Linked DNA regions of Homo sapiens: regions 1, 2 and 4 are each linked to region 3. The links are contacts of gene promoters, found by promoter capture Hi-C in human tissues and cell types (Jung and others, 2019). All regions are on one chromosome and are shown on one strand. The core of a region is centred on a gene start or on the middle of the fragment in contact, and the rest is flanking DNA. Distances in the headings are between cores, read along the strand shown. Region 1 holds the start of TPSD1 (tryptase delta 1). Region 2 holds the start of NPRL3 (NPR3 like, GATOR1 complex subunit). Region 3 holds the start of METRN (meteorin, glial cell differentiation regulator). Region 4 holds the start of UBE2I (ubiquitin conjugating enzyme E2 I).

Evidence for each region. Contacts are between HindIII fragments. The study calls those that stand out against the background at their distance.
Region 1: a contact is called between the fragment with the promoter of TPSD1 here and the fragment with the promoter of METRN in region 3, in 2 of the 25 tissues and cell types used here (lymphoblastoid cells and mesendoderm cells).
Region 2: the fragment with the promoter of NPRL3 here is called in contact with the fragment with the promoter of METRN in region 3 in 1 of the 25 tissues and cell types used here (lymphoblastoid cells).
Region 4: the fragment with the promoter of UBE2I here is called in contact with the fragment with the promoter of METRN in region 3 in 4 of the 25 tissues and cell types used here (dorsolateral prefrontal cortex, lymphoblastoid cells, mesenchymal stem cells and 1 more).

The regions. Positions count from the first base shown.
Region 1 is chr16:1,251,519-1,258,512 of GRCh38, forward strand. It overlaps TPSD1 (tryptase delta 1), which reads left to right and starts at 4,551. Exons shown (of 5, transcript NM_012217.3): 1 at 4,551-4,844; 2 at 4,998-5,169; 3 at 5,279-5,544; 4 at 6,541-6,704; 5 at 6,814-6,994. The coding sequence starts at 4,763. The coding sequence ends at 6,858. The HindIII fragment of the contact is 12,300 bases long and covers 1-6,994 here.
Region 2 is chr16:137,148-143,743 of GRCh38, forward strand. It overlaps NPRL3 (NPR3 like, GATOR1 complex subunit), which reads right to left and starts at 1,526. Exons shown (of 14, transcript NM_001077350.3): 1 at 1,495-1,526; 2 at 1,003-1,187. The coding sequence starts at 1,120. RefSeq lists a silencer at 956-1,185, an enhancer at 1,406-1,455 and a cis regulatory region at 5,808-6,326. The HindIII fragment of the contact is 17,392 bases long and covers 1-5,633 here.
Region 3 is chr16:710,190-717,085 of GRCh38, forward strand. It overlaps METRN (meteorin, glial cell differentiation regulator), which reads left to right and starts at 4,929. Exons shown (of 4, transcript NM_024042.4): 1 at 4,929-5,204; 2 at 5,395-5,795; 3 at 6,744-6,803; 4 at 6,882-6,896. The coding sequence starts at 5,101. RefSeq lists silencers at 1,671-1,800, 4,688-4,997, 5,098-5,527, 5,628-5,687 and enhancers at 3,945-4,543, 5,142-5,739, 5,740-6,337, 6,338-6,896. The HindIII fragment of the contact is 3,141 bases long and covers 2,541-5,681 here.
Region 4 is chr16:1,305,301-1,312,342 of GRCh38, forward strand. UBE2I (ubiquitin conjugating enzyme E2 I) reads left to right here and starts at 4,336. Exons shown (of 7, transcript NM_003345.5): 1 at 4,336-4,473. RefSeq lists silencers at 3,405-3,694, 4,185-4,484, 4,685-4,874 and enhancers at 3,905-4,144, 4,846-5,457, 6,890-6,939. The HindIII fragment of the contact is 23,762 bases long and covers 1-7,042 here.

The sequences.
Region 1 (6,994 bases), core at 3,301-5,800, 540 kb after region 3:
TCAGAGACAAAAAGCAATGAGCTGGCCGGGTGCGGTGTCTCATGCCGGTAATCCCAGCACTTTGGGAGGCTGAGGCGGGCGGACCATGTGGTCAGGAGATTGAGACCATCCTGGCTAACACAGTGAAAACCCATCTCTAAAAAAAAAAAAAAAAAAAAACAGCTGGGCATGGTGGCAGGTGCCTGTAGTCCCAGCTACTCGGAGGCTGAGGCAGGAGAATGGCGTGAACCCGGGAGGCGCAGCTTGCAGTGAGCCGAGATCACACCACTGCACTCCAGCCTAGGAGACAGAGCGAGACTCCGTCTCAAAATAAATAAATAAATAAATAAATAAATAAATAAATAAATAAAAGCAAGGAGCTATCAAGCCTTGAAAAGACATACAGGGGCCATAACTGCCTACTACTCAGTGAAAGAAGCTAGTCGGAAAAAGTTAATAGTGTATCGTTGATAGTGGATAAGTCAAAACTTCAGAGACAATGAAAATATCCGTGGTTTCCAGGGGATGGGGAGAGGGAGAGGCAGTGGAGCACGAGATTTTGAGGGCAGGGGATGTATTCCGCATAATACGGTAATGGTGGACACATGACTTGTGCACTTGCCACGACCCACAGAATGTACAACAGACAGAGTGAACCCTCATGTAAACTGTGGGAGTTCGTTAGTAATAATGTATCAATATTGTTCATCAGCTGTAACAATGCACCCACAGTAATGCAAAATGTTCATAACAGGAAACTCTGTGTGTGGGGATGTGTGTGTGGGGGGATACGATCTGTACTATCTGCCCAGTTGTCTGTAAACTTAAAACTGCTCTAAAAAATAAAGTGCATTAATTCCAAAACACCACAACTTCACGTGCAATTTCAACTTGCAACAGCCTGCTTTTAGTCTCCCCGGATCCTTCTGTTACTGTAGCACACGCCGCACCCTTGTGTATTCCATAAACCACACGATACCTGCACTCGCTTTGCTGTTGTTGCTTCAAACTGCCAATTCTCTTTCAAATATTTTTTGAGAGAGAAAACTGTCTTACACAGTCACAGCTGTTTCCATTTCCAGAGCTTATCTTCCCTTAGTCTAGGTCTAGATGTTCATCTCTTATCATCTTCTTCCTGCAGAACTTCCTTTCACATTTCTTTTTTTTTTTTTTTTTGAGACGGAGTCTCCTTCATTGCCCAGGCTGGAGTGCAGTGGCGCCATCTCGGATCACTGCAAGCTCCGCCTCCCGGGTTCACGCCATTCTCCTGCCTCAGCCTCCCGAGTAGCTGGGACTACAGGTGCCCGCCACCACGCCCGGCTAATTTTTTGTATTTTTAGTAGAGACAGGGTTTCACTGTGTTAGCCAGGGGGGTCTCGAACTCCTGACCTCAGGTGATCCACCCGCCTTGGCCTCCCGAAGTGCTGGGATTACAGGCGTGAGCCACCGCGCCCAGCTAATTTTTGTATTTTTAGTAGAGATGGGGTTTCATCACGTTGGCCAGGCTGGTCTTGAACTCCTGACCTCAGGTGATCCAGCCGCCTCGGCCTCCCAAAGTGCTAGGATTACAGGCGTGAACCACCACGCCCGAACATGATTGATTTTTTTTATTGGGAGGTCATCCTTTTTCATGCCTGCTTTTTTTTTTTTTTTTAAGACACGGTATTGCTCTGTCACCAGACTGGAGTGCAGTGGCACGATCTCGGCTCACTGCATCCTCTGACTCCCTGGTTCAAGCGATTCTCCTGCCTCAGCCTCCCGAGTAGCTGGGATTACAGGCACGTGCCACCACGCCCGGCTAATTTTTATATTTTTAGTAGAGACGGGGTTTCACCATGTGGGCCAGGCTGGTCTCGTTCTCCTGACCTCACGATCTGCCACCTCGGCCTCCCAAAGTGCTGGGATGACAGGCGTGAGCCACCGTGCCCGGCCACCCGCTCGTTCTTGACTAGCCCCCGGATCTCGTGAGTACTCTCTGGAGTGTTTTGTTGCGTGCTGGGTTGTGTTCTATTCCTTGACATCGTTTTGAGATGTGTTCTCACAGGCAGTTAAGTCACTTGCAATCATTTGGATCCGTCTGCGCTTTGCTTTTCAGCTTTGTGAGGGTGGGTCCGGAGAAGCCTTTGGTTTCGGGATTACTTTCTCCCCTCGTACCCTTCCATACCCTTCCGAGGACTCTCCAGTGCCTGCCTCTGACAAGGTTTCTCCACTCAGCTGCTGGGAACACGCGATATCCCCAGCCCCGCGCGCACTCCCGGACTCCGCCCCTCTCATCTGGTGGTTCTCGTTTCCGACGCGGCTCCCACGTCTCTCTGCATCTCCGGCACTCGGCCGAGGACGCCGGGGGGAACCCCCTGCGGATGCCCGGAGCTCTCCGTGCAGTTCTCCGCCTCGTGAGTCATGGCTGCCGGGGCCTCTGCACGCGCCAGGTGCGTCTCCCCAGCCCAGCAAGCTCCTGGGGCTGAGTTTCCCATCGCTGCCCTGAGTCTGGGCGCGGCCACTGTCGTCTCACCCGACTCCCCACCCTTCTCTCGGGGACACTGCCCCACGTGGCCTCTTGCCCAGTGTCTGTCAATGGCCTGGGACCCCAGCCCTGCAGCAGCCCCAGGGGAGCGGCCGGGGATCGGGGCGGGGTGCCCAGGACGCGCCCTGATTGGCCCAGTGTTAGCCAATCAAGGCTCTCGCATCCCCATGGTGCTGATTGGTCCGCCTCCCAGGCCTGACCCAATCGGAGCATTCCTAGGAGGAGCGGCCCCAGAGCCCCTGACTCGGGGGTCCCAGAGCCCTCTGCACACCACAGCCCCGGTGTCCCCGTGTGTCCCTGGGTTCTCCCAGCCCTGGTGTCCCCTGAGTCTCTTCTTCACCGTCAGCCCTGGTGTCTCCCGTGTCCCTGCCACACCCTCATCCCTGGTGTCCCCCGTCACCCCATCCCCTCACCTCCTGGGCTCCTGAAGGTCCCATCTTGTGGGCCTCATTCATGGAACCAGGACGGGGCAGGTGGAGGCCTCTGGGGAGTTTGTCCAGAGAATGGAGGAGAAGCAGGGTCATGAGCAGGAGCGGTCTGGGCCACCCCTGCCTGTCCCCCGGGGGGTGCAGCCCGGAAGGAGTCCAGATGGATATGGCCCCGCAGTGCAGAGTCAGCCTCAAACCAGGCTGGTCCCAGGCAGGGTGGGGGCAGGAGGAGCCCCGGAGTGGCCCTGTGTTGGGGGTCGGGGGGCAGGCAGGGGGTCCTGGGGCTCAGAAGCAGAGGAGGTGGGCTGGAGGCCCCAGTGACCAACAGGCCCAGGTGAGTCAGGAGGTGGGGTGGACGGAGCTGCAGGGACAGTGTCAGCGCTGAATGGGATGGAGAGCACAGGGAGCTGGGGCCGGGGGTGAGACCAAGGGGAGCTGGGCTGGGGCTGGGGGTGAGTCCATGGGGAGCTGGGGCCGGGGGCTGGGACTAGTCCATGGGGAGCTGGGCTGGGGCTGGGGGTGAGACCATGGGGAGCTGGGCTGGGGCTGGGACTAGTCCATGGGGAGCTGGGCTGGGGCTGGGACTAGTTCATGGGGAGCTGGGCTGGGGCTGGGGGTGAGTCCATGGGGAGCTGGGCTGGGGCTGGGGGTGAGTCCATGGGGAGCTGGACTGGGGCTGTGGGTGAGTCCATGGGGAGCTGGGGCTGGGGCTGGGACTACTCCATGGGGAGCTGGGGCTGGGGCTGGGACTAGTCCATGGGGAGCTGGGCTGGGGCTGTGGGTGAGTCCATGGGGAGCTGGGCTGGGGCTGGGGGTGAGTCCATGGGGAGCTGGGCTGGGTCTCCTGGGGTTGCACCTGCACTCCTGTCTGCCCTTCCCTCTGCGGATGAAGCTCAGATCCCATGATAAGAAGGCACCTGCAGACCAGGGGACCTGCACGGACAGCCCCAGAGGTGGACATTGAGGAATCGTTGGAGGACTTGGGTCTCATACGGGAGGTGGGGAGCAGGGCCCCTTCCTGGCTGAGGACACTTGGTGCTGTCCCCTCTCAAGGCTGTTTCCCCATCTGACAAAGGGGTCTCATGTGAGCCCCCAACCAAGTGAGTCGAGGAGGGCTGGCCCCACCCCCGTGGATTCGGAGTCCGTAGGAGGGGTGTCACCCGTCATGTCCCCACCCCGTGGGCACCTTCCCGTCTCTTGGAGGGTGGCCCATGGACATGAGTTCCTCACCCCGTGTCCCTCTTGGGGAAACAGGTTTCAGGAGCGACGGGTCTTGTAGCCTGGGGCAGCCAGGCCACCTGGGTGCAGCTATGCCTGAAGGCCTCCTGGCACCGAGACAGGGGCAGGAGCAGATCCCACCAGCGGGAAGGTGGTGGGTTCCAGTGCTGGGATCCACCAGCTGACAGGTGGAGCTGCGAGCCTCCAGTGCTCAGCCCTCGGCGGGGCCTGCCTGGCAGCCCCACACACAGAGGGCATCGGGGTGGCGGGGGCATGTGTTACACGGGGGCCCTGGGTCTGAGTCATCCACTTCCTCCGAGTCTGGATGGGAGGACCCAGCGCCCCTCCTCCGCCCCCTCCTGATCTGGAAGCATAAATGGGGAGGGGAGAGCCCGCTGGGTAGAAGGAACAGGGAGTGGCCAGGGTAAGTCCCTACTCTCAGAGACCCTGACATCAGCGTCACCTGGAGCAGAGTGGCCCAGCCTCAGACTCAGAGCACCAAGACCCAGGCCCGCAGGCCTGGACCCACCCCGGTCCCCCCGTCCCAGCTCCATTCTTCACCCCACAATCTGTAGCCCCCAGCCCTGCCCTGTGAGGCCCGGCCAGGCCCACGATGCTCCTCCTTGCTCCCCAGATGCTGAGCCTGCTGCTGCTGGCGCTGCCCGTCCTGGCGAGCCCGGCCTACGTGGCCCCTGGTGAGTCCCAGCCGGGGTCCACCCTGCCCCTCACCACATTCCACAGATCAGGGCCTGGGTGGGTTCTGGGGAGGCCGGGCTGGCCCCCACACAGGGAAGGGCTGGTCCCAGGCGTGGGGCGGCTTCTTGGTCCTGACCTGGCACCTGCCCCAGCCCCAGGCCAGGCCCTGCAGCAAACGGGCATTGTTGGGGGGCAGGAGGCCCCCAGGAGCAAGTGGCCCTGGCAGGTGAGCCTGAGAGTCCGCGGCCCATACTGGATGCACTTCTGCGGGGGCTCCCTCATCCACCCCCAGTGGGTGCTAACCGCGGCGCACTGCGTGGAACCGTGAGTCTCCTGGGGCCTGGAGGGGTGGGCAAGGGCTGGATGTGAGCCCTGGCTCCCGGGTGCTCCTGGGGGCTGCCCAGGGCCCTGAGTGGGATCCTCCGCTGCCCAGGGACATCAAGGATCTGGCCGCCCTCAGGGTGCAACTGCGGGAGCAGCACCTCTACTACCAGGACCAGCTGCTGCCGGTCAGCAGGATCATCGTGCACCCACAGTTCTACATCATCCAGACCGGGGCGGACATCGCCCTGCTGGAGCTGGAGGAGCCCGTGAACATCTCCAGCCACATCCACACGGTCACGCTGCCCCCTGCCTCGGAGACCTTCCCCCCGGGGATGCCGTGCTGGGTCACTGGCTGGGGCGACGTGGACAATAATGGTGGGTGTTGGGGACAGCGGGAGGCCGGGCCAGGTGGGCACCAAGTCACAGCCACAGGCCAGTCCGTGGGGTGACAGGGTCCCTCAGGGCGGCTCAGGGAGGGGGACTGTGGAGGCCAGGATGGATGGAGCAGGCGGTGGCGAGAGGCAGCAGGTGCCCTGAGCAGAGACGGTGAGTCCAAAGGGCCTGGGCGTCCCCCACCCCAGGGGTTTGGAGAGTCCCTTAGCACCTCCGTGCCTCGGTTTCCCCTTGCCTGAAAGGGTGCATCAAAAGTTTGTACGTCACGGACTTGCTATGTGGAGAGAGAAATCACACGGGGGTCTTGCTGGAAGGAGAGAGACCGGTGCTGGGATGAGACCTGCCTGCCCTCCATCCCTGTGCTACAGACAAGGCAGGGGCCTGGGAATCGGGGTCGTGGCAGTGCTGTGGGGGGCTGGACGAAGCTCACTGTGGCCCTCCACGAGGCACATTTTCACTTCTAGAAGGTCTTGTCCCCATTTTATCCACAATTCAGAGCAAAGCTTTGGGGTACAGCCTGAGCGGCAACCCTGGGCTGTGACCTCTGGGTCACTCAGAAGGGGCCTGAGCCACTGTCCCGCTATTCCGCCCCACACAGCGGGGAAGCTGAGCCCAGCGCCCTGTGTTCCCCTCGGCTAGGGCCAACCGTGGACCATGGGCCTAGCCCAGACGAAAGTCAGCTGAGCCCAGGGGGAGACACGGGTCGGGCTCTGCACCCCCGTGCCATGGAGCCCAGCTTGGCAACCTCCAGGGCCCTCCCCTCCCTTCCCCAGATGGGGCTTAAATGAGGCCAGGGACCCAGGACCAGCCTCAGCGGAGGGGCCTGGACTGCATTCACCGCCCCTTCCCCGGGGCTGCAGGCACAGAACAGCACTGGGCCCATGGTGCCATCTCCCCTGCCCGTGACTCTGCCACCAAGTCCACGAAGCAGCACCCAGCCGGCCCCAGACCCGGCTCCACGCCCCCCTCCGCCCCCAGTGCACCTGCCGCCGCCATACCCGCTGAAGGAGGTGGAAGTCCCCGTAGTGGAAAACCACCTTTGCAACGCGGAATATCACACCGGCCTCCATACGGGCCACAGCTTTCAAATCGTCCGCGATGACATGCTGTGTGCGGGGAGCGAAAATCACGACTCCTGCCAGGTGGGCCCTCGCGTCCCCCACCCCAATCCCCGGAGCCTGGCCAGCGAGCGCATCCCTCATCCTGACCCCCGAAGCCTGGCCAGCGAGCACTGACCTCTGACCTTCCCAGGGTGACTCTGGAGGGCCCCTGGTCTGCAAGGTGAATGGCACCTAACTGCAGGCGGGCGTGGTCAGCTGGGAGGAGAGCTGTGCCCAGCCCAACCGGCCTGGCATCTACACCCGTGTCACCTACTACTTGGACTGGATCCACCACTATGTCCCCAAGAAGCCCTGAGCCAGGCCTGGGGTGT
Region 2 (6,596 bases), core at 276-2,775, 580 kb before region 3:
AGGTGGAGGCTGCAGTGAGCCGAGATCACGCCACTCAACTCCAGCCTGGGCGACAGAGTGAGACTCCGTCTCAAAAAATAAATAAAATAAAAACAAAAACTGAACATTCATGATGATGAAAAATCAAAAGTAACCTACATGCCGTCCACAGGGGAAGGCAGCAGCCTGCAGCCAAGGGTGAGGTTGATCCCTGCTTGCAAAGGCAGACGGAGCTCCAAGGCCGACTATGGGAAAAGGGCGCCACAGAACAATTCGTGCGATGAAAAACCTCACGCGACGTTCCCTTTTCCTGTGGATAGATCTGCATCTATGCACAGGGCAGACAACTCCCAACACGGCCAGGGGTGATCCCTGTGCTTGCTAGAACTGGGGGTGGCAAAGACAACTTCAGATGTTCACGTAACTTTTTTTTTTTTTTTTGAGACGGAGTCTTGCTCTGTTGCCCAGGCTGGAATCCAGTGGCGCGATCTCGGTTCACTGAAACCTCCGCCTCCCGGGTTCAAGCAATTCTCCTGCCTCAGCCTCCCAAGTAGCTAGGATTATGGGCACGCACCACCACGCTCGGCTAATTTGTTTTTTTTTATTTTTATTTTTTCAGTAGAGACAGAGTTTCAACCATGTTGGCCAGGCTGGTCTCGAACTCCTGACCTCAGGTGATCCACCCGCCTCGGCCTCCCAAAGTGCTGGGATTACCGCCACCGGCCTTGTTCGTGTAATTTTGTATTTTCTCATGATGAATACATCCCAAACTCATTTTATTTTATTTTACTTTATTTTTTAAAGGCTGGAGACTGATGAAATGTCAGCAGTAGTTGCTTTGGTGTGGTGAACAATGCATGATTTTAATTTTTTTTTTCCTTTTTCTACTTTTCAAATACTCTACAACGAGCAGATCTCGAATGCCCAGCAAAAGCTAAGCTCCGCGAGGCGGCCCTGGAATGAGGCGACCCCGGAATGAGGCGGCCCCCGCGAGCGCCAGGCCCCCGCCCAGCGCTCACTTACTTGTCTGGGACGCCGGGTGCTCCTGGCTTCTCTGGAAGGGGTACCTGAACAGCAGCTTATTGCCCCTGCTCCCCGAGCTCACCAGAATCACGCTGATGGGGCTGGTGTTGTCCCGCATCCCGCCGTGGGGCCGGGGCCGGGGGCGGAGGGGGCCAGAGGAGGACGGAGCCGGAGGCGGAGGGGGCCTGAGGAGGACGGAGCCGGAGGCGGAGGGGGCCTGAGGAGGACGAGGCGGGGACGCAGGGGGCCTGAGGAGGGCAGGGGTGGAGGCGGAGGGGGCCTGAGGAGGGCAGGGGTGGAGGCGGAGGGGGCCTGAGGAGGGCAGGGGTGGAGGCGGAGGGGGCCTGAGGAGGGCAGGGGTGGAGGCGGAGGGGGCCTGAGTAGGGCAGGGGTGGAGGCGGAGGGGGCCTGAGGAGGGCAGGGGTGGAGGCGGAGGGGGCCTGAGGAGGACAGGGGTGGTGGTGGACGCGGAGCAGCGCCACAGTTACCAACCCACGTGCCACGCTCCGGGCTCGCGAGACTTCGGCGACACCGTCCGGAGGAGGTGCTAAGGCGGCGGCCGGGAGAACGGCGCAGGCGCAGGCGCAGGCGCAGGCAGCGGAATGCGCAGGCGCGGGGCCTTCTGGAAGCCACCGAGTTCCGCGGTGCTGTCTGGAGCCGTACGGTTCGCGTTTGGGGCACAGGGGCCCCTCTTGCTGGTGCGGATGGGAAAGGCGCGGGGTCGAGTCAGCGTCCCTCTCGATGTTGGTTTCTTCGTTTTACAAATAACACTTGGGCGGGGCGCGGTGGCTCACGCCTGTAATCCCAGCATTTTGGGAGGCCGAGGCGGGCGGATCACGAGGTCAGGAGATCGAGACCATCCTAGCTAACATAGTGAAACCCCATCTCTACTAAAAATTAGAAGAAATTATCCGGGCGTGGTGGCAGGCGCCCGTAATCCTAGAGGAGAATCGCTTGAACCCGGGAGGCGGAGGTTGCATTGAGCCAAGATCACGCCATTGCACTCCACCCTGGGCGACAGAGCGACGAGACCCCGTATCAAAAAAAAAAAAAAGAAAGAAAGAAAGAAAAAAGAAAAAAAAAAGGCCGGGCGCGGTGGCTCACGCCTGTAATCCCAGCACTTTGGGAGGCCGAGGCGGGTGAATCACGAGGTCAGGAGTTCGAGACCATCCTGGCCAACATGGTGAAACCCCGTCTCTACAAAAAAAAAAAAAAAAATTAGCCGGGCGTGGTGGCGGGCGCCTGTAATCCCAGCTACTCGGGAGGCTGAGACAGGAAAATCGCTTGAACCCGGGAGGCGGAGCTTGCGGTGAGCCGAGATTGCGCCACTGCACTACAGCCTAGGCGACAGAGCGAGACTCCGTCTCAAAAAAAAAAAAAAAAAAAAAAAACACTTGGAAGCCGACAGGAGATCTTTGAGACCTTGGGCGAGGCAGTGACACTAAAGGCAGGAGCGACTACAGAAGAATAAATTAAACTTCATCAGATTAAAAACTTTACTGCGGCCGGGCGCGGTGGCTCACGCCTGAAATCCCAGCACTTTGGGAGGCCGAGGTGGGCAGATCATGAGATCAGGAGATCTAGACCATCCTGGCCAACATGGTAAAACCCCGTCTCTCTACTAAAAATACAAAAATTAGCTGGGTTTGGCGGCGCCTGCTTCTAATCCCAGCTACTCGGGAGGCTGAGGCAGGAGAATCGCTTGAAGCCGGGAGGCGGAGGTTGCAGTGAGCCGAGATCGTGCCACTGAACTCTGGCCTGGCGACAGAGCGAGACTCCATCTCAAAACAAAACAAAAACTTCGGTGCTTTAAAGGACACCATCAAGAAAATTAAAAGTCCACCCACAGAACGGGAGAAAATATTTGTAAGTTACATATCTGATAAGGGAATTGTATCTAGAATGGAGGAAACTTACAACTCAACAATAAAAAGACAATTGAAAAATGCACAAAGGATATGAATATTTTTCCAGTGCATTATGCAAATGGCCAATAAGCACCAGAAGATGCTCAGCTCAACTGGTAGAGGCTTACGCCTGTGACCCCAGCGCTGAGAGGCCAGGAACTCCAGACCAGCCTGGGCAAAACAGAAATTAAAAATGCTCAACATTATTAGGCATTAGGGAGATGCAAATCAAAACTACAAATAGATGCCACATCACACCTCCTACGATGGCTGTAATCAAAAAGACAAGCGTCAGCAGGGGTGTGGAGAAACGGGAATCTCTCTCCTGCTGGTGGGAATGTAAGAGGCTACACTCGCTATGGAAAACAGGCTGGCAGTTCCTGAAAGGTTAGAGTTAACACAACACTCGGCAAATCCCCCTTTTAGATATATAGCCAAGAGAAATGAAAGCATATGTCCACACAAAAACATGTGTGTTCTTAGTAATATTATTCATAATAGCCCAAAGTGGAAGCAATCCTAGGGTATATCAATTGATGAATGGGTGAATATGGTATAGTTTGTTTAAGGGAATACTATTCAGCCATAAAAAGGAATGAAGTACGGCACATGAATCCATCTTGAAGACACACTAATATATGATTCCATTTATATAAGATGCCCAGAATAGGCAAATCCATAGAGACAGAATGATTAGTGGCTGCCTAGGGCTTCCAGGGGGTCAGGGGAAATATGGAGCGATTCATGGGTTTTTTGAAGGGGAGTGATGAAAATGTTCTAACGTTGACTGTGGTAATGGTTGGACAGCTCTGAGAACGCGAATACACTAAAAGACATGGAAGTGCCGGGCGCAGTGGCTCATGCCTGTAATCCCAGCGCTTTGGGAGGCCAAGGCAGGCGGATCGCGAGGTCAGGAGATCGAGACCATCCTGGCTAAGACAGTGAAACCCCGTGTCTACTAAAAATACAAAAAATTAGCTGGACATGGTGCGGGCGCCTGTAGTCCCAGATACTCAGGAGGCTGAGGCAGGAGAATGGTGTGAACCCGGGAGGCGGAGCTTGCAGTGAGCCAAGATCGCACCATTGCACTCCAGCCTGGGCGACAGAGCGAGACTCCATCTCAAAAACAAAAAAAAGATATGGAAGTGTACACTTGAAGTGGATAAGCTTTATGGTATGCAAATTGGTATGGTATGGTAAATTATATCTCAATGAAGTTGTTTTTTAAAAAATCACCCCACCTACCCTATCCCAGGCTTCCCCAGGAGGTAACTAAAGGTAATGAGCTTCTTTGGCTGCTTCCAGAACTTTCCCAAGCACATCAAATGCATCAGAACCTAACCACTTGACTGAGGGATGAGCATTTTCACTGTTGCAAGTAACCCTCTTGCACCAACACTGACACTAATGTGTATTTTGCAGAACAAATTTGTGGATTGGCCTCACCAGGGTGAAGGGTACGTGCATTTGAAATGGCTCAACAGTACCAACAGGTGCGTTTTCTTGCACAGGGCTGCATAACATTTTTTTTTTTTTTTTGAGACAGAGTCTCGCTCTATCACCCAGGCTGGAGGGCAGTGGCACAATCTCAGTTCACTGCAAGCTCCACCTACCAGGTTCACATCATTCTCCTGCCTCAGCCTCCCAAGTAGCTGGGACTACAGGTGCCCGCCACCACACCAGGCTAATTTTTTTTTTTTTTTTGAGATGGAGTCTTGCTCTGTCGCCCAGGCTGGAGTGCAGTGGCACGATCTCAGCTCACTGCAAGCTCCACCTCCCAGGTTCACACCATTCTCCTGCCTCAGCCTCCCCAGTAGCTGAGACTACAGGCGCCCGCCACCACGTCCGGCTAATTTTTTTGTATTTTTAGTAGAGACGGGGTTTCACCGCGTTAGCCAGGATGGTCTCGATCTCCTGACCTCTTGATCCACCCGCCTCGGCCTCTCAAAGTGCTGGGATTACAGGCGTGAGCCACCGTGCCCGGCCTGCATAACATTTTTTTTTTTCCTGAAATTCCCAGAAAGGAAAATGGTGTCTTGTTCTATGTTGCATTTCTTTGATTGAGAGGGAGAGCTGCATCACTTAATTATTTGCAGAGAATTGCTTTTCTTGTTTTCTTTACAGGTGGTCTGTTCTTGGATGGTCTGGCTGTGTTCTTTCTGAGGAATACATAACCTCTGCTACACATTTTGCAAGGCTTTATCCCCGTTGTCCATGTTTTGATTTTATGTATAATCAAAAGGTTTGTGAGTTCTCCCGCACTTCCCAGGAGTGCCTCTGGGATGGAAATGAGACTGCAGGAGCAGGGCTTGAGGCTGGAGGGGTGAGATGGGACAGATGGGGGTGGGGGAACCCAGGGCAGTGGCCGGTGGTGGTAATGGAGGCCTCCTCACAGGGACCCTCACAGCGACCATGCGAATGGAGCAGGACTGTGACTCAGGTCTCGCTCTTCTGACCTAATCGTGCTGCTGCCCCAATGGGCAGAACCTTGGGGCTCCAGACTGGACATCTCTGGGCTCAAAGGATCCCACTGTTCCCCCGGTTACCCTCTCAGGGTTGGCCTCCTGCCAGTAACCCTGGCACTCATTGTTCATTCTTCTGACTATCGTCAGTCATAATGAGAGCTCGAACTGGTGAAAGTGCAGGGAGCTCACCATGACCCCAGCCCACAGAGGTCCTGGGTGCGTCCCTGCCCTCGAAGCAGCACTCTGGATCCCAGCGCCACCCTCATGTCCATGTTTGCACCTCATTGGCTGTGACAGAAATGAGACATCATTGTCACACGCTGGCCTGAGGGTCAGTGGGCCTTGCTTTGGACCTCAGTTTCCCCACCAGTAACAGGGTTCAGAGCAGATGGTCCCTGAGTGAGTCCCAGCTCTAAGTTCTCCCAGGGTCTCCTGGACAATGAAGCACCAGGGCCAACCTCCATTTGCTACAGGGGACATCCTCAGGCTCTTCTCTGCTAAGACCCCACACCTCCAAGTCTCCTCATTTTACCTTTAAATAGCTGTTTCATGACCTGCTTTTTTGACGGTAAGTAGATTTTTGGAAACTGAAACCCCTGACCCTTCCTCCCAGCCTGGGCCTGCCCTTGGCAGGATAGGAGGCCTTATCGGTCCTGCCACTTGGTCTGGGCCTCAAAGGGCCACCGCCATCTGCAGGAGGGCCGGGTGGGGTTCACAGACGCTATCTGGGACTTGCCTGGACACCTCCACCTTCTCAGCTGAGTGTTGCTGCCCCACCAGGGAGAACCACTCACACACAGTAGTAATAGAAATAATTTAAAATTCATGCTGCAAGTTCCTGAGCGCCCTCCCAACACTGAGGTGGGGGCTAGTCTAATCCCCATCCTAGAGGTGAAAACAGTGAAACTAGGACTCACAAGGCAAATTAGCCTGTTCAGGGTCACCGAGGGTCCACTCTCATGGGAGAGTTTGCAGATGCCCAATCCGGCATTCTGCTGAGTGTCCAGTGGCTTGTAAGTGGCCAGACACCCTTTGAGCTCAGCCTCAGCTGCTCAGGCACAGAACGTGCCTGGAGCTTGGAATTCAGGCCAGAAACCACCAGTGGACACCAGCATTCCACACTCACTGCACAGGCTGGGGCTCAAACCAAGGCCCAGGGACAGGAAGGGACAAGCCCCAGCCCCAGCCGGACTCCCAGCCCACACAAACCATCAGGGCTTGT
Region 3 (6,896 bases), core at 3,679-6,178:
TCTTGGCACCCAGTGCCCCTCAGCTGTGGGAGCCATCTTCACTGTCCCAGACCCCAGCTCCACCCAGGGAGGGGGCAGCAGGGCGGCCGCAGAGCAGCACATTTGGCCAATCCCGTGCAGGGCTCAGCTGGGGACACAGGAGGCGCTGGCTTCAGGTCAGCCCACACCTCTCTCCTCGCTCCGCTGCCAGTGAACAGAGACACAGGCGGGGGTCTTGGCCTACGATCTGGCCCTTCTCTCTAGGCTTCCTCCCCATTTCCTGGGGGATCCTGTTCACCGGTGCGTCCAAACTCCCCAACTCCCTCAGGGCAGATGGGCTGGGTGGGGCCGGCCTTACCCGCCTCCCCTTTGCAGCAGGTCAAAGGCTCTGAGGCAGATGGAGCTTCAAGCAAACAAGGAGCCCCCAGGGCTCACCCTCTGTGGTTCCTGGTTTACTCGAAGTTCTGTCTGCCTCAGGGCCTTTGCCCCTCTTCTCCCCAGGGTTGGGGCTCCCTTCCTGCCCCCCCATCAACTCCCCTCGTCCTTGATGTTGCTCCCCCAGGGCCCCAGCCAGCCAGCTCCTGCCCTGGCCGTGACAGCTGCTATTCTGTGCCCGGCACTGTGGTGTCCCCAGCGGGTTGTTCGGCACTCCGTGGCGCAGCCACCTGTCCGCAGCCGCTCCCCTGCGGGACGTGGGCTGCCTGTGCCACGCACTGCTGGGGCCCAGCTCATGGCAAATGCAGCACTGGTGTCCTCCACGGGCCGGAACCTGTGTCTGGGGGGAGAACGCAGTGGCCGAAGGTGGGAACCATGTGGCAGTGACCAGGGTCTCGACCGCCCCCACCCCAGCACCCCCTCAGGCTGCAGCTCCAAGGGCCCTCTGGGCAAGACAGGAACAGAAACCAAGTCTCAGGCTTCGGGACAAGCTGTGAGGCTGGCCGCCCTGCCTTGGGCTGAGGGGCCTTGTGATATGGCGTCTGTGTTTGGCCACGGCCAGGCTGACCCGCAGGCGGGAGAGATGATTGTCCCAGACTCTGCACTCTCCAGGGGTGGCCTCACGCGCTAGGCCCAAGGTTTCTGAAACAAAGCCTCAGGGAAGTTCTTCCTTTTGTCTGACTTGAGTATGTCTTGCTGCTGTCGCGTTCTGACTTGGGTGGAAATGGAGAGAGGCCCCTTCTGGGGTTTCAGGGCACTCAAGGGTCTGGGGCTTGGGGCACTTGAGGGGGCCCCCAAACAGCACAGACAGCCACGGCATCACCTAAGCTTGGGGATGCCTTCCAGGCACTCCTCCGCCCAGCCACCCCCCACTTAGTCTGCTGGTATTTACTGAGCACCAGCACCCTGGCAAGTCGGGTCCTGTACCCATAGCAACTGAGGACAGACTCGGCCTTCCAGGCCCCTCCTGTAGGCAGCACAGCACTCACTGATGCCAGGTGCTTTCCTGGGTGGGGCCGGGGGCTGTGAGGAAAAGGGGTGTGTGTCCAGGGCTTCTCCTGTGGGTGGCTGCATTGGCACCGGATCCCCGGAGATGAGGCTGGGGAGGAGGCAGGGACGCCCGGGGTTGAGGCGTCAACTCGGGGCCAGGCATGTGCCATTCCAGACCAGGTCACCCCAGGAACCCCTCCCTCCAACCACAGACACTGGCCCCTCTCTGGAGGAGGCCTGGGGAGAAGTCCGGGGCCCAGGCTGTCAGGAGGGTGTCTGGGGCTGACCCTCACGCCGCCACCAGAGGGCGCCTGGAGCCCACCGTGCTGACCCGGGGACCGCCAAGCGGCAGCAGCCCTGGACGGCTGGGTGGCTGCAGCGGCCGACCCGTGTGCCTCTCCCCACCTCTGCGAGCACCTCATGTGCTCAGCCCCAGGCCGAGTCTACCCTTTAACCTTTACGATTTTTATATTTTATTTATTTATTTTTTAATTTTTATTGAGACAGGGTCTCTTCTGTCGCCCTGGTTGGAGTGCAGTGGTGCAATCACAGCTCACTGCAGCCTCACCCTCCTGGGCTTAAGCAATCCTCCTGCCACAGCCTCCCAAAGTGCTAAGACTACATGCATGAGCTGCTGCACCCAGCTAATTTTTGTAGTTTTAGTGGAGTTGGGGTTTCAACATGTTGGCCAGGCTGGTCTTGAACTCCTGATGTCAAGCGATCATCCTGCCTCAGCCTCCCAAAGTGCTGAGATTACAGGCAGGAGCTGCCACACCCGGCCTTAATTTTTATGTAATTAATTAATTAATTTTTATGAGACAGACTCTCACTCTGTCACCCAGGCTGGAGTGCAGTGGCCTGATCTCAGCTCACTGCAACCTCCACCTCCCGGGTTCAAGCGGTTCTCCTGTCTCAGCCTCCCAAGTAGCTAGGACTGCAGGCGTGCGCCACCACGTCCAGCTAATTTTTGTATTTTTAGTAGAGATGGGGTTTCACCATGTTGGCCAGGCTGGTCTCGAACTCCCGACCTTGTGATCTCCCTGCCTTGGCCTCCCAAACTGCTGAAATTACAGGTGGGAGCCGCTGCGCCTTGACAATTTTTATTTTTAATTGTAAGATATACATCATAACATCTACCATTTTACCCATTTTAAAGTGTGCAGTTCCGTACTGTTGAGTACATTTGTGTTGTGTAATCAAGCTCCTGAATTCTGTCCCCATTAAGCTCCAATCCCTCATTCCCCTCCCCAGCCCCTGCTCCACTTTCTGTCCTCATGACCGTGACTACTCTAAGGTGACTCACAGAAGTGGAATCCAACAGTGTTTGTCCTTTTGTCTCTGGCTTATTTTGCTCAGCGCATAAGCCTCCAGGCTCATCCAGGCTGTAGCGGGTGTCAAGGGACCAGAACTTCATTCCTTTTTATGGCTTAATAATGGACCCACCGCCAGGGGGTGCCGTGGCTCATGCCTGTAATCCCAACACTTTGGGAGGCTGAGGTGGGCGGATCACCTGAGGTCGGGAGTTCAAGACCAGCCTGACCAGCATGGAGAAACCTCGTCTCTACTAAAAATACAAAATTAGCCGGCATGATGGCACATGCCTGTAATCCCAGCTGCTCGGGAGGCTGACGCAGGAGAATCGCTTGAACCCAGGAGGTGGAGGTTGCAGTGAGCCAAGATCGCGCCATTGCACTCCAGACTGGGCAAAGAGCGAAACTCCATCTCAAAAAAAAAAAAAAAAAAAAAAAAAAAAAAGAGGCCGGGCGCGGTGGCTCACATCTGTAATCCCAGCACTTTGGGAGGCCAAGGCGGGCAGATCACGAGGTCAGGAGATCGAGACCATCCTGGCTAACACGGTGAAACACCCTCTCTACTAAAAAAAGAAAAAATACAAAAATTTAGCCGGGTGTGGTGGCGGGCGCCTGTAGTCTCAGCTGCTCGGGAGGCTGAGGCAGGAGAATGGCATGAACCCAGGAGGCAGAGGTTGCAGTGAGCCGAGATCGAGCCACTGCACTCCAGCCTGGGCGACAGAACGAGATTCCGTCTCAAAAAAAAAAAAAAAAATGGACCCACTGCACTTGCTTGTCCACTCAGCTGCAGACAGGCCTTTGGGAGTCTTCCACCTTTTGGGGATTGTGATGGCTACTTCTGACCTGCACCTCGCCCAGAGCAAGGGGCTGGCCGAGCCCAGTAGGCGCCTTGTTCCTGTTTGGCCTGGGAGGGCCCTGGGGTTGAGGGAGGGCCTGGTCAGTGGGATCCAGCCTCCCACTGCCACTGAGCCATCTGGCCTCATCTGTCCGACTGCCACTGGTGAACTCATCTGTCCACCATGAGTTTCGAGCGCCGGGTGGCAGGAGGTTTGGGGGCAGGGGACGGAATGTTCACATCTTCAGGCTGCACAGTCTATGCTGGTCCTTGCAGTCCCCGGCTAAAGCTTCTGTCGTCCGTAAGGGGTTCAGTATGTAGTGGGACCCCTTTGCTTGTGCCTTAGGCCTTCTGTGATCTGACCTGTCGTCCCCACCCACCACCCATGCCCTGGGGTTTCACTGGGCTGCCAAGAGCTCCTTCCTCAGGCCCTTGACCCAGGCTGTCTGCTCTCCCCCATTCTCTTCCTGTCCACCTGGCCAGCCACTGCCCACTTCCTCCCATCAGGCCAACTCAGCAGTCCCGGATGCTGGGAATCCCACACTGCTCCAGCCTGAGGCTACAGTGTGTTTGCGAATCGCCTGTTTCTGCTTGTTTCATCTTGGTGGGGGCTGCTCCTGTGGCCCAGGGGTGTCCTCCCAGCTCCTGTGTCTCCACGTGCTGCAGGCCTGCAGGGGTGCCCGTGGCTGCTCCATTCACGCCCCTCCAGGAGCCCCGTCTGGCCCGGGGTCGGTCATCCGGCAACTATGGGGTGCCGCTAGGTCTGAGGAAAGGGGCCTAAGCCTGCGGGCTGCGCGCTCTTCAGCAGGACCCCCTCCTGCAGACGGCCTTACCAAAACCCGAGGCCTGGCCCCGCTCCAAGGCGCAGCCCCCAGGCCAGGCCTTCCCCGCCTCTGGAGTCATGACCCCTCTCCTCTGGGGCTCCACCGGCCTCTGGTCAGCAGGACCGGACCTGGTTGGGAGGGATGTGGCCAACAGGCCCAGGTCCCAGTGTTAGGAAGGAGCAGGCCCGGCCGCCCGCGAGGCGGAACCACCAGGTGGGCCACCTTCCCTACCGCCACCCCGAGGTTCCAGTGGACATCAAAACCTCGGCTCCATCAGAGGCTCCAGGACTCCGATCGGGACAGCGCGGGGGGCGAGGCCAGGGTGAGGGCGCGGCGAAGGAGAGACGCACAGCGCGGGGCGGGCAAGGAGCCTCCCTTCCGCGCCAAGGCCCCCCCCAACCCTCGAGGCGCTTGGACCGTGGGATAGTCCTCCGGCGGCGCCCGAGCTCCGGCCCCGCCCCCGCTCCGCCCCGCGCCTGCTATTGGCGGAAAGTTCCGGGCCGCGCCGCGACTGGCCGACACGCCGCAGGCCCCGCCCCCTTCCCGACCCGCTCCAAGGCGGCCCCGGCGCTGGGGCTGCGCGGCAGGCGGAGCGGCCGCGGGCTTGGGGGCTTCGCCGGGGCCGGGCGGCCGGCGCCCCCGGCTGCTCCCGCCGCCGCCCGGACCCGCGCCCCGCCGGGGCAGCGGTGGTGAGAGCCCCGACTCCCCGGACGCCGCCCGCCGTGCCATGGGGTTCCCGGCCGCGGCGCTGCTCTGCGCGCTGTGCTGCGGCCTCCTGGCCCCGGCTGCCCGCGCCGGCTACTCCGAGGAGCGCTGCAGCTGGAGGGGCAGGTACGGTCCGGGGGGCTGTCCCCGCACTTAGGACGGGGTGCGCTGCGGCTAGGACCCCCCAGGCGCCCCTCGGAGCGCGCAGAGCGCTGGGCCGGTTTCCCCATCCGCGAGGCGGCCTCGGGAGGGAGCGGGGGCTGCGCCGGGCGGGGACCCGCCCCCGTCTCAGCGCCCCGTCCCGTCCTGTCCCCAGCGGCCTCACCCAGGAGCCCGGCAGCGTGGGGCAGCTGGCCCTGGCCTGTGCGGAGGGCGCGGTTGAGTGGCTGTACCCGGCTGGGGCGCTGCGCCTGACCCTGGGCGGCCCCGATCCCAGAGCGCGGCCCGGCATCGCCTGTCTGCGGCCGGTGCGGCCCTTCGCGGGCGCCCAGGTCTTCGCGGAGCGCGCAGGGGGCGCCCTGGAGCTGCTGCTGGCCGAGGGCCCGGGCCCGGCAGGGGGCCGCTGCGTGCGCTGGGGTCCCCGCGAGCGCCGGGCCCTCTTCCTGCAGGCCACGCCGCACCAGGACATCAGCCGCCGCGTGGCCGCCTTCCGCTTTGAGCTGCGCGAGGACGGGCGCCCCGAGCTGCCCCCGCAGGCCCACGGTCTCGGCGTAGACGGTGAGTGGCGGTCTGGTTGGGACAGGGTGGGAGTCCCGAAGTCTTACCCTGCCTGGGCTTGGCGGGAATGTGCCTTGTCGGCCCCACTGCAGAAGGAAAAAGTGAGCTACAAGGGTTGGATGGGCTTGTCAGGCCACACAGCCTGGGACTGCTGGGGAGGGATGGCCTCCCCGCCCTCCCTTCCCGATTCATCTCTGGAAAGAGCTGGCAGGGGCAGAGTGGAGGGAAGGGGAGGCCGGGCCCAGCAATCCTGGGCCTCTGGTCCCTGAACGGTTGGGGGAAGAGATGGTGGGGACAGAATCGAAGCCTCCGGCCAAAGCTGTCCGGGGCTCCCTGGCCCAGCGGTGACCTCTCTCCCCTCCCCCAGCCCAACCAACAAAAGTCCAGTGTGCAGCCCGGTCACCATGGAGACGCCGCTCGCCTCCCTGCAGGGCACCAGGCCCAGCTCTTGCTTGGCTCTCCTGGAGCTTGGCGCCTGACCCTGAAAGGGATGGGCTCTCGCTATTCTGCCCCCTGGCCCTGGGCCAGGGACCCCAGACCACCCTTCCTCTGCCCCCACTTCCTATCACCCTAGCTGGGCTGCTGCTCTTCAGACCTCAGATCCGGGAAACTAGAGGGGTCCCAGATGCTGGGGTGCATATGTCAGATGGGAGTGCAGGAGGGCGGCCCAGGACAGCTGATCGCTAGGCATGGCCCCCAGGCCCACGTCTGTGTGCATTCCTGCCTTGGAGGTACGCGCCTGCAAGTGTGTTTCCTGAGTACAGGTGTCGCCGAGGGCGTGCACATCTGCTGTGTAGCTCTCTGGGACCCCCAGGTGCCATCAGGCCCTGAGCGTGGGCTCTGCTCATTTGCCTGCTGCCTCCTGCCGCTTGTGCGGACAAGGGACGGGGCCTGGGGTGATGCCGGGAGAGGGCAGGGCCTCTCCTCACCACCCCCTCTGCATGCCAGGTGCCTGCAGGCCCTGCAGCGACGCTGAGCTGCTCCTGGCCGCATGCACCAGCGACTTCGGTGAGTGTCCCCGCCATGGGGGGAGCCTGGAGCCTGCCTTCCCCTGAATGCCTACCGCAGCCACATGCCTCCCCACAGTAATTCACGGGATCA
Region 4 (7,042 bases), core at 3,086-5,585, 590 kb after region 3:
CCTGCCGGGTTCAAGCGATTCTTGTGCCTCAGCCTCCCCAGGAGCTGGAGTGGTGTGCACAACCATACCCAGCTAACTTTAGTATTTTTTAGTAGAGACGGGGTTTCACCATGTTGTCCAGGCTGGTCTCGAACTTCTGACCTCAAGTGATCTGCCCACCTCAGCTTCCCAAAGTGCTGGGATTACAGGCGTGAGCCACCGCGCCCAGCCTATTATCCTGGATAATAACTCCTTCTCAGATATGTGAATTTTTTTTTCTTTTTATTTTTAAATGAAGTCTCGTTCTGTTGCCCAAGCTGGAGTGCAGTGACGCCATCTCGGCTCACTGCAACCTCTGCCTCCCGTGTTCAGGAGATTCTCCTGCCTCAGCCTTCGAAGTAGCTGGAATTACAGGCGTGCACCACCACACCCAACTAATTTTTGCATTTTTAGTAGAGACAGGGTTTCACCATGTTGGGCAGGCTGGTCTCAAACTCCTGAGCTCAAGCGATCTGCCCTACTCAGCCTCCCAAAGTCCTGGGATTACCAGCGTGAGCCACCGCGCCTGGCCCGAGGCTGACTTTTGAGCTGGTTTTTGTGCGTGCTCCGGGGTAAGGGTCCACCTTCACTCTACTGCAGAGGCCCTTATTCCTCTGGGGGAATCGGCCCTCAGTGAAGAGGCCTCTGCTCTCAAACCCCTGTGCAGAGCCTGGCCCCAGCAGGCCCCGGAGGGGGCACCCAGGGCACTGGAGGTCCCGCCCTACCGCAGGCAGCTCTGCATCACACTTCCTGCTCCCCTCCCAAGGGGACCAGGGCAAAGGTGGGCGCGTGCCTGGCACAGTCAGCCACAAGCCTTGCCCAGGATCTTATAGTTACTGATTCAAACCCCCCACCCTCTCCAAGCCTCAGTTTCTCCTTTGTACCCAGGGAGCTGGACCCAACAAGTCCCCTCTCCTTGAAAACGTGTGCCAGGTGCAGGCTGCTCAAAGGACACTTGTGGGCTGAGGATGCACAACTGAGGGAGCCTCTTCCCTCCCCCACCTGCTCCATGCCCCTCACCCCCACCTGCTCCATGACCCTCACCCCTACCTGCTCCATGTCCCTCACCCTCACCTGCCACAGCCTCCCCAAACCCCAGCCCCTCCTGGCACTACTTCCCACCAGGACAGGAATTCTCTAGATGCCTGAGCCATGTCTCCTCAGTCCCTCACCACACACACACAGGGAACCAGGGCCTTGTCTTACTTCTCCTGTTCCACAACCTTCTATGGCTCCCATGGCCCACAGGTTCAGGCCCAGGCCCTCCCCAGCCACACACCACATCCAGTCAGTCTCCCCAAGCCCCACTCATGACAAGCCCCCCACCTCACCAGCCCTGCCCTCTCTGTGCCTGAGGCTGCAGCGGGATCCACCGAGGCCCGTGGCTGTCTTGCTTTTCTTCAGCCACGGCTTTTACTGGCTGACGCCTCCCCACACAGCCCTGTGCTGGCATCTTCGCCAGAAAGATGGCGTTGGAACCTTAGCCCATGTCAGGAAGCCAAAGGGCCATATCCCTCTGCCAGGCTTGCCCAGGGGGCTGGTTAAGAATGCAGATTTCAGCTGGGCGTGGTGGTCCACACCTGTAATCCCAGCACTTTGGGAGGCCGAGGTGGGCGGATCACTTGAAGTCAGGAGTTTGAGACCAGCCTAGCCAACATGGTGAAACCCCGTCTCTATTAAAAATACAAAAATTAGCCGGGTGTGGTGGTGCACGCCTGTAATCCCAGCTACTCGGGAGGCTGAGGCAGGAGGATCGCTTGAACTCAGGAGGTGGAGGTTGCAGTAAGCCAAGATGGCGCCACTGCACTCTAGCCTGGGCAACACAGTGAGACTCCATCTCACAAAAAAAAGGAAAAAAAAAAAGCAGATTCCCAGGACCTCAAGGCTGGGGGCCAGGACAGCAGGTGTCTAGACAGGCCACGGAGGCTCTGAGCCTGGGAGTTGCAGCCAGGCCAGGCCCCCGCTGGTCTTGGTGGGACAGGGCTGTGCATGGCTTCCAGGGACTGGATTCTGGGGGAGGCTGCCCCTGCTGCCCTGGACCCACATCCCCACGGCTGCGCCTCCCAGGCAGGCAGACCCAGGGTGTGTGGCTGCCCCTCCTGCTGCAGGTGCCTGACAGGGAAATGCCCGCTGGGGACCCTGTGGGAGGTGGTGGGGGAATGAGTGAGGGAGGGAGGGAGTGAATGAGTGAAGGAGGGAATGAGTGAGTGAGGGAGGGAATTAATGCATGAGTGAGGGAGGGAATGAATGAATGAGGGAGGAAGGGAATGAGTGAGGGAGGGAATGAATGAGTGAGGGAGGGAATGAGTGAGGGAGGGAATGAATGAGGGAGGGAATGAATGAATGAGGGAGAGAGGGAGGGAATGAGGGAGGGAGGCAATGAGTGAGGGATGGAATAAATGAGTAAGGGAGGGAATGAGTGAGGGAGGGAGGGAATGAATGAATGAGGGAGGGAGTGAATGAATGAGTGAGGGAGGAAGTGAATGAGGGAGGAAGGGAATGAGTGAGGGATGGAATGAATAAGGGAGAGAATCAGTGAGGGAGGGAGGGAATGAATGAGTGAGGGAGGGAATGAGTGAGGGAGGCAGGGAATGAATGAGGGAGGGTGGGAATGAATGAGGGAGGGAATGAATGAATGAGGGAGGGAATGAATGAATGAGGGAGGGAGGGAATGAGGGAGGGAGGGAATGAATGAATGAGGGAGGGAATGAACGAATGAGGGAGGGAATGAATGAGGGAGGAATGAGTAAGTGAGGGAGGGAATGAGTTTGTGAGAGTGGGAATGAGTGAGGGAGGGAGGGAATGAATGAATGAGAGAGGAAATGAGTGAGGGAGGGAATGAGTGAGGGAAGGAATGAATGAGTGATGGAGGGAATGAATGAATCAGTGAGGGAGGGAATCAGTGAGGGAGGGAATGAGTGAGTGAGGGAGGGAGGGAATGAATGAGAGAGGGAATGAGTGAGGGAGGGAAGGAATGAATGAGGGTGGGAATGAATGAATGAGGGCGGGAATGAATGAATGAGGGCGGGAATGAGTGAGAGTGAGAATGAGTGAGTGAGGGAGGGAATGAATGAGTGAGGGAGGGAATGAGTGAGGGAGGGAATGAGTGAGTGAGGGAGGGAATGAGTGAGGGAGGGAATGAGTGAGTGAGGGAGGGAATGAGTGAGTGGGAATGAATGAGTAAGTGAGGGAGGGAATGAGTGAGTGAGGGTGGCAATGAATGAGTAAGTGAGGGAGGGAATGCGTGAGAGAGGGAAGGAATGATTGAGTGATGGAGGGATCGAATGAATGAGGGAGGGAGGGAATTAGTGAGGGAGGGAGGGAATTAGTGAGTGAGGGAGGGAATGACGGAGTAGGGGAGGGAATGAATGAATGAGTGAGGGAGGGAATGAATGAATGTGGTCACTCCCCGCGGTCCCCAAGCACCCGGACACCGTGACCTTGGCTGCGGCCCCGCCGTCGGCGAAATGCGGGCGGGGGGGCCGGGAGAGCCCGGGGGCCAGCACGGTCGCGCGTTGGCGAACGGACTGTCCCGCGCGCTCGCGGGTCTGGGGGCCTCCCGACCCGGTCCTGCTTGTTGCGTGGGCGGGAGGGGGGACCGGAAGCGCCCCTCCCCCACGGGCTCGCCCCGCCCCCGCCGCTCGCGGTCCCCCACGTCCCGCCCGCGCCCCGGCCCAGGGCCAGCCCCCGGTTTAGGGAGCATCCACACTTCTCCTCCCGTCGGTCATGCTCGCATTCGGCCTTTTGTACGGGGTCAGCTCATTGGGCGGATGAGAAGGTGTCCCCGCCTACCGCCCCGAACTGGCCAATTGCAAGGGGTTTCACAGGGCGCTGAACTCGCGGGAGCGTCACCGTCCTGCGACGCTTCAGAGGATCCTTAGGCCTCAGTGGTCTTTGACCCCCGGCCCCAGGACCTGACCCCAAGGAAACCTCCGGGACCTGTGGCTGGAGAGGTGACCGCCAGGCATCCGGGGAGCCTTTGGAGATCTCGGCTTCCTTTTTCCCCCGCTGCTTGCCGGCGTGTCCTCGGGTGGACGCGGGCAGCCCGAAGGGGAGTTTACAGACGCTCCCTCACATCGGGGACGCGGCTCCTTTAAGGGCGTAGGTGTCCAGGGCGCCGCCTGACTGGAAAGTCGCCCCCCGGCCGGGCTCCTGGGGCGGACCCGGGGCGCGGGCGCGCGGCGGCGGGGCGCGGGCAACGGGGAGCGCTCGGCGGCGCGGGAGGCGCTCGGGGCCGGGCGGCAGGAGCGGCGCGCGAGGCAGGCGTGCAGAGGGCAGCCCCGCGTTAGGCCCCGCCCCGCGCGCCCCGCCCGCGCCAGGGTCCTCGGAGCTGCTCTGGCTGCGCGCGGAGCGGGCTCCGGAGGGAAGTCCCGAGACAAAGGGAAGCGCCGCCGCCGCCGCCCCGCTCGGTCCTCCACCTGTCCGCTACGCTCGCCGGGGCTGCGGCCGCCCGAGGTGAGCGCGTGCGGGGGCCGGGCCGGGGCCGCGGGGCGGGGGTCGGGCCGAGGCCTCTACTCCTGTTGGGCCCGGGCCCCCGACTGCCCCGCGCCCCGCCCCGCCGAGCCGGGCCCCGCGCCGCGGCCGAGCTTTCCGGGGAGCCCGAGAGGCCCCGCGCTCGGCGCCGGCTCGGTCCGCGCTGCTGGCGCCGCTGGGCTGCGGCCCGAGCGGCCGGGCCGCCGCAGGCCTTCGGGGCCGGGGCTCCCCCACTTCGCCCCCGAGGTGCGCCTGGCGCGGGGCCGGGGCAGCCACCTGCAGCCGGGGCCCCGCGAGGCCGCGCCTTCCTCCTGCGCGGGGAGCGGCTTCCGGGGTCACGGTCGCCCCGCGGACGGATAGGATGGGCCGCGGGGGGAGAGTCTTGGATTGCAACATCGCTGGCTCGCGGGGGTGGGGGCCGGCGAGCGGGCTTGTTTTCGGTGCCTTAAAACCAAAACAAGTGTAAGTTTTCTTGTGCCTCTGAAGATGCTCCGCTGGCGCTTGCTGGGGCCCTGAACGTGAGCGCCTCGCTGGAGGGGGAGTTTTATTCTGTTTTGGACATCTCTTTTTATCGGTTGAATAGTAGTTGGTTCTGGTAGTTAACGTGCGTAGGAGGAATGTAAGGGAATGATTAGTTGGGCTTGTGATCGTGGCCTGTAGTCACGCTTGAATCGCAGAATGAAGTGGTTTTGTTTGTATAATTGGAAGTTACGCTTAGTTTCTCTGTTTGCAAAGTGCCTGTCTTTGGGGAGTTCGGTTTGTTTCCTTTTACAGGACCTACCCCAAGTGTTTCTTGCTCTTCAAGAAACGTTGCCTTTGGGTAGAGAACCTATGCAACGGAAGACGGGACGGATCCTCAGTTTGCCCTGATTGCTCATTCAGAGAGGTCCGTTCCCTAGGCCACTGGGTGATTGCTGGTGTGCGCTTGTATGGTGTCTCAGGGTTTGGGATCTTGCTTCAGAAACATTCTCGGGGCCTGGGGCAGATCAGGTGCGGCCAGGTAAGCGTCTCCCGACTGCAGGTGCTTGGGTCTTGCAGAAGGGAATACCTCCCCAAGCCTGGGAGAGTTTGCATTTGGGTGCAGGAGGGCCTTTAAAGGCTTCTTGTGCCAGCCTGTCGTGGCGACCACCCGTTGTGGAGATCAGTGCGGTGGAGTTGTGGGAGGTGAGTGCTTTGCTCACCCTCAGCCAGGAAGTTGCTCTGAAGTCGGTGCTGTCAACCAGCAGAGCAAGGCGGTGATCCGAGAAGCTAAAGCTCAGCCGGTTGCGGGCGCCCAGCAGGAGGACAGAAGGCAGACTTTCGGGCCGCTCCTGGAGTGCCCGGCCCTGTCCCCGTTTCTGCAGTGTCTGGGCCTTGCCTGGCTCTAATAGATGAGGGTTGTTTTTGTCTTTGCATCATAAAAGTTTCTTGCTCTGAAGCGTTTAGTAACTACTAGCCGTTCACTAAGTGCCTATCTGTGAATTTGGAAGGGCAAATTCGATTTTCAGCGGAATTTTGAACGCTTGATCTGTGTTGTGATTACATTGTAACAGATTGGCCGCTTTCTCCAGAAGGCCAGTAGGAGGGGGTGCAGGGGGAGGGGCCTGGCTTCTGTCTGGGACACGGTGGGTGTGCACCTGTGGCTCCTTGCCCTGGCGGTGCAGTGCCTGTGAGACCACCCCGTGGTGCTGAGTGCTTTGGGGCAGGGGACACAGCAGCAGCAGCCAGGTCTTGGCAGGAGGTCTCGCAGGACCACCCCTCACGACTTCTCACACCTGAGACAGCAATAGCTAGGTGCTGGGACGGGGGCCTCTAGGCGGCTCTGTCCAGTCCTCAGCAGGAGGGCTGCCTGTGGCAGGGTCCCAGGCCCGTCTGGCCTCTCTGTGGCCTGGCCTTGCCTGGCTGTGAGGATAGCCTTGCCCATGGTCCTTCAGTGTCTGGAGCACTGGCCTGAGGCTTCAGAGACTTGCCTGATGCCTGGCCTCGCTCAGACCCCGGGCACCTGGGAGGTCGTGCCTCCTTGAAATGGCCACTCGCCAGGCTGCTTTGCACCGCACCGGGCACAGGCTGCGGCCACTCAGGAAGCCCATCCTGGGGCTGGGGAAGCGAGAGCTGTGAGTCCTCAAGTCGCAGCTGGGCTGCTCCACGTGGGAGTGGAGGGTGGAGGAACGTGTGGAGTTTCGGAGTCCAGCCCAGTGCGGAGACAGCCTTGAAACCGTGGTTGGCGGGCGCTCCACTCCGCTCTGGGCTCGAACCCTGCCTGACCATAGCTGTGCCCCCCACTTTCTCCCTGTCTGGCCCCTGGCTCCCCCCCCCTCACTTAGAGGAGGGCACGGGGAAGGGCAAACGGTCCAGAGGGCGGGCGGCCTGCGGGCTCCTCTGCATCATGTGAGGAGGGCGTGGGGAAGGACATCCCGGTGGGGCCCGGTCTGGGGCTGCCTCCAGCCCGGGCTGCCTGTCTTGGACTTAGTCGTGGACCTGGAGGCCAGTGCCCGGCTGGCCCCTGTCACCCTCTCGCTGTGACGCCAGCGCCTGCTGACTGGAGGACCCAGGTTCCTTCGCCTGCTTTTTC